Linked DNA regions of Homo sapiens: region 1 is linked to region 2. The links are contacts of gene promoters, found by promoter capture Hi-C in human tissues and cell types (Jung and others, 2019). All regions are on one chromosome and are shown on one strand. The core of a region is centred on a gene start or on the middle of the fragment in contact, and the rest is flanking DNA. Distances in the headings are between cores, read along the strand shown. Region 1 overlaps BEND7 (BEN domain containing 7). Region 2 holds the start of MCM10 (minichromosome maintenance 10 replication initiation factor).

The links. The method cuts DNA at HindIII sites, captures the fragments that hold promoters and counts their contacts. A contact is called where the count stands out against the background at its distance.
Region 1: a fragment that was not itself captured here is called in contact with the fragment with the promoter of MCM10 in region 2 in 1 of the 25 tissues and cell types used here (heart left ventricle).

Annotation. Positions count from the first base shown.
Region 1 is chr10:13,518,204-13,520,903 of GRCh38, reverse strand. The region is part of intron 2 of BEND7 (BEN domain containing 7); the gene reads left to right. Among named protein-coding and RNA genes, the nearest start is that of BEND7-DT, 9.0 kb to the left of the region's middle. The HindIII fragment of the contact is 3,108 bases long and covers 1-2,700 here.
Region 2 is chr10:13,160,065-13,162,872 of GRCh38, reverse strand. MCM10 (minichromosome maintenance 10 replication initiation factor) reads right to left here and starts at 1,315. Exons shown (of 20, transcript NM_018518.5): 1 at 1,267-1,315. RefSeq lists silencers at 1,051-1,230, 1,253-1,566. The HindIII fragment of the contact is 5,218 bases long and covers 382-2,808 here.

The DNA of each region.
Region 1 (2,700 bases), core at 30-2,529, 360 kb before region 2:
TGCACATAAACATATGTTTCGGTAGCTGTGGATGCAGAACTTGGTCGTTCTCACGTATGACTTGTTGCCTAAAGTCTGGGAGGCATTTGTAGTTAGGCCATCCGGGCACTCCATCTCTCATTTAGTTTCTATTGCAGCTACACTGTGAGGTTGCTGTTGGGTCGGCCTCATGTTTTACAAATGGGAACCTCAACTCAGGGATGAAAGTGATTTGCCCAAGGCTACATGGTCATTAGTAGCTGACCACACTTTCCAGTGGGGTCTCCTGACATCCACTTCTGAGTTCTTCACCTTGTCAGAGCTGCCACAGCTCCTTGCTCCAATCTGCCCACGTGGGCTGATCTCAGTACGTAACTTCTCACCCTCTCTCCTGCTTAGAGACTTCAGCTCCCTTGTCATGGGCCTAGAATCAAGGCAAAGCCCTTCACTGAGTGTCTAGTATGCACGGTCTGACCCGACCCATCTCCCTGTCCACAGCTTTCATGTAACCGCCTTCCCTTGAGCCAACCGGCTTCCTAAACCAGGACTTCCAGGTGCAGAGGAGGCACCACAGGGAGAAGGAATGGGGTGGGCAGGAGCTATGGCCTGGGAAAGCCCCTCCTGCTGGGAAGAAAGGAGCTAGGGCTTGTTTACTGCCTCCGGTGTGTGCTGGGCACTTCCGAACTTTATCTCATTTAACACTGAGACCAGCTCTGAGAAGGTATTGTCATTTCTACTTTTATATGAGAAAAATGGGCCTTTAGAATTGTTAATGTACGTAAGGTCATAGAACTAGGAGACAAGAGCCTGGATCTGGAATTTGGACATGGCCTGGCCACGATCTTTCCACTGTACCATGCTGCCTTGGAGGAGTGAGGCCCCGCTCTCCTCTCTCTTTCAGTTCGCTGTCTGTTTCTAAACCGCCCTTCCAGCCTTCTCTTGCTCTTCACCCTCACTGAAAACATGTGCTGTGTCAAACTGATCACATCATTCCCTCCTAAAGCACCTTCCCATTCTCATCTCTGCCATTTCACTGCGGCTCCTTCTCCATCCTAGCCTCCTACCATTCCTTACCCCATTTCCAAACTCCTTCTAGTAAAATCCTGTCTCTCCTATCGGTTTTTAAAGCTCAATTCAAATATTACCTTGGCCTGTAAGCCGCCTCAGTTTACATAGCGTAGCAGAGAGAAGTTGGATTTAGAGTCAGAAAACCTTGCTTTGAATCTCAGGCTCCAGTTCTAACACCTTGGATAACACTCTTGAGGGGTTTTCCTCATCTTCTGTAATAGAAGAATAACGTTGGCCCTCCTGACGCACATGCGAAATCCTGTATGGTAAAACGCTTTTTCAAACTGGAAAACACTGTATTTCTGTTTTTATTACCCCATTCTCTCTCCTTCTCCCAGATTTAGGAGTTATCTTTTCTTTTTTTTTTTCTTTCTTTTTTTTGAGACGGAGTCTCGCTCTGTTGCCCAGGCTGGAGTGCAGTGGCGCCATCTCGGCTCACTGCAAGCTCCACCTCCCGGGTTCACGCCATTCTCCTGCCTCAGCCTCCCGAGTAGCTGGGACTACAGGTGCCCGCCACCACACCCGGCTAATTTTTTTGTATTTTTTTTAGTAGAGACGGGGTTTCACCATGTTAGCCAGGATGGTCTCGATCTCCTGACCTCGTGATCCACCTGCCTCAGCCTCCCAAAGTGCTGGGATTACAGGCGTGAGCCACCGTGCCCAGCCTAGGAGTTATCTATTCTTCCGATCACTTGGGCACTAAGTAATAACATTACTCTTTTCTGGCACTTACCATGTGATGCCTAATATTTACTTATTTTTGTGTGTGGCTTTATTGTGCTCAAGTCACCCTGCAGATCCTCCTCCGAAACTTAACAGCTGCCACATTGAAATGTGGTTGTTTATTTTCAGGACTCTCCTAATCGCTCCTAATGTAAATTGTCAGATCCTAGAGGGCAAATGTGACCTGAGTTCATTTTGGATCCTTTGAGAACCTAGCACAATGCTGTATCCGTAATAGGTACTCTGCTGATAGGTCCTCAGATATGTGATTTAAATGCATGAATATATTGGACACTGTCGTTAGGACTCTGAAGATTTATTGTAAAGTATACTGCTATATTGAGATTTTAGAGACATTTAGTGAGCCAAACTAAAAGATGCCTCATTTAACTTTAAGCTTCTGTAACATACTAGAGTAGAAATTTGGGATTTCTGATGTTGATTTGTGAGATACAACTTCTTTTTTCAAATCCAGAAGACACCGAAAAGGAGAACTCACATATGAAAGCCAGTGACATGTTGGAAACCAAAATTGGAAAATCACATTTGTTCTGCTTGTTCCTTATTCTGCTCTAACACAGGTACAGCTTTAGAAAGGTGCTTAAGATAGCGCTGGCCCATCTGTAAACTGATGTTGACATTGTTGACTTCTCAGATTTCACATGAAGCAAGCTTTTCTACCTTAATTTAAGGACATAAAGCCATGTATTAAAGATCACACCAACAAACCTTAGTGCCTGTCGGGTTTCTGAGGGAGTTGGGCCCCTGCACACAGCCACCGAAGTTGTACCTGCCCAAGGGGGCCCTGTGAGGGGCCAGTGGGGCTGACATGCAGCCTGCAGCCTGCTCGCCACGGCCCGCATGGGGGCAGCAGCTGTCCTGGGGAAAAGCCACCTCTTTCTGTTTCTCAGGAAGGCTCATTGTGGTTCA
Region 2 (2,808 bases), core at 66-2,565:
CTCCTGACCTGGTGATCCGTCCGCCTTGGCCTCCCAAAGCGCTGGGATTACAGGCGTGAGCCACCGCGCCTGGCCGCTTTTTAAAAATTCATTCAACCAACATTTCCACGGATCCCTCATGTGCCACACACTGTGCTATCTACTGGGGAACCTATTGGACAGTAAGCTTCCTGAGCGTTAGGAGCAAACTGTCTCGTTCAAGTCTGTAACCGGCCTTGCCTTCCCCCAAAATGAAACTGTGCACCCTCCCTCGCCCTCAAATCCACGGCCACTGACAAGTACTGTGGTCCCATCTCCAAAACACTGCTCAAATCTGCCACTTCTCTCCAACTTCACTGCCAGAACCCTAGGCCAAGCCACCGTCAACCTTTAACCCAATGACTGTGTTAGCTTTCTATGTTGGTCTCTTTGTCCCCGTGCAATCTGTTCTGCATACGACAGCCACGGTAATCTTCCCTTTCCTTAGTAACCTTTAGGAACATAAATCAGATCATGGGGGTCCCTTCATTGAAATTCTTTAATGATTTTCCATTGCCCTTAGAAAAAATCTACAAAGCCTGCGAGGCAATGATTCATATTCTCTCTCTCTTTCCAAGCTTTCTACTCCCTCACATTTTCCACAATCCACCACGTCCAATTCTACCCACCCCGACACCCATAACGATGCTCCAGCCGGGCCAGCCCGCTTCCACCTTCTGGAACACACTAAGCTGCTTTGAGGTCTCAGGCTCTGTCGAAGAAAGCTCCCCCCAGGTCCTTCTCGCCCTTCGGTCTCCACTTACTCATCTTTCTGAGACTTTCTGGACCACCCTGAGTCGTCCACTGTCGTGCATTTGTTTACTACCTGCTCGTGCCTTTAAACTGTAAGCGCTGTGAAGGCAGCGGAAATGTGATCCGAGCCATGCACACCGTCCGCATTCAATAATCATTGGCAAATCATGAATACGAGAAACCAATGAATGAATGAATGAATGAATGAATAAAAGAAAGCCCAGGCGGCAGGCACTTGGCAAGCACTTAAAAGGCTGCGTTTAAAAGGAAGAACCCGATTCCTTAGTAGACGGCCAGCAACTCCCAGCCCCCGGCCCGGCCATGCCAGCTCCGAGCGGTCCCAAGCTGCCGCCAAATCCAGATCGCGCCCACCCGAGCTCCCGGGACCCCGCGCCTCTAGCCTCGGACCCCTTGCAACCCGCGCAGAGACGTGCGAGGCGGCCCCGGCCCCGCCGCCCGAGGGTCACACGCACGCCCGGGGCCCGCGCTCCTCACCCGATGCCGGGACGCCTTCTTCGTTCACAGCTGAACCCGCCAAAATTCCAACCGGATCCCGCCCCTGCCTTGACGTCAGACGCACGCGGCTGTGGGGCAGCACTGACTGGCTACGCCAGCGAATCCCGGCCCTGGCACAGAGCAATCGGATTGGTTTACGTCATTGGACGCCCTCTTTGTTGGGGGCAAGGGACCTTCCTGTCGGTAGAAGCCAGTCTCCTTTAGGTAAAATAGAGTGTCTGGCGCCCCCTGGTGCCGGGAAGTTTAAGTCATCCCACCCAGTATTTTCCCTGCGGTCCCATCCCACCTCAACTCCTGACGCTCTGGGACCGACTGTTCCTTTGTCAGCCTTATGTCCATTCGAAATGTTTGGGCTCAGGACCAAACAGATCCGGTCCACTTTTACCCTGTCTGACCTTGGGGAAGTGACTTATCTCTCTGAGTTTCCCCTTCACCATCTGTGCAGTGAGGGAAAGGGTAGATGACATCTTTTACACTGAAACCACCATTTCCCGAGTAATTCCTGTTCCATAGATTTTGGGACTTCTAAGGGGCGTCAGGGCTGAAGAGAACTTATCAGCAGACCATATCTTTCACAGATTTTTTTTTCAGTAAAATTCAGGCCTCTTTATGTATTTACATTCTAAAAAATAGTGTTTGTACATAATACTAAGAACATAGTTTCTAAATGCAGAATAACATTTAGCTTTTACATAATTTCAAGGGATTGATAGCAGAAGAGACTTTGATGGACCAAATGGCCACTTTAAGTCTTTCCCCCCTTTTCCTCCTTGCAGACACTGTTCAGGCACTGCAGTTCCCCCACTAATAATCCCTTTGGTATAAGATCCTATCTCTATCCACTACGTACTTTCATTTTCAGAACAATTAAAATCGACTTTAGGAAGACTGAAGATAAACAGTCCTGATGCCATCTACGTTGACTTTTTTCTGTGTCCTAATGGAATATTACTGCTCCATTTATGAGCTCAGCCCTATTACTTAAACCTATATTGGCTCAGGAATAGGAATACAACCATTTCTGAGAGCTGCTAGTGTTAAAAATTCATAGTAATGGAGGAACTCTAGTAATCAAATTGAAAAAGTATGTTTAAATGCGTACTTTTAAACATACGGCACTAAGGCCGGGCACGGTGGCTCACCCCTGTAATCCCAGCACTTTGGGAGGCCGAGGTGGGTGGATCACGAGGTTAGGAGTTCGAGACCAGCCTGGCCAACATGGTGAAACCCCATCTCTACTAAAAACACACACAACACAAAAATTAGCTGGGCGTAGTGGTGCGCGTCTGTAATCCCAGCTACTTGGGAGGCTGAGGCGGAGAATCGCTTGAACCTGGGAGGTGGCGATTGCAGTGATGAGCCGAGATCTCGCCACTGCACTCCAGCCTGGCGACAGAGCCAGACTCTGTCTAAATAAATAAATAAATAAATAAATAAATAAATAAATAAATGCATCACTACATCTAGTTATTAAAAAAAAAAGATTCGTCATAGATTTATTCTTAGCCATTATGCAGAAAT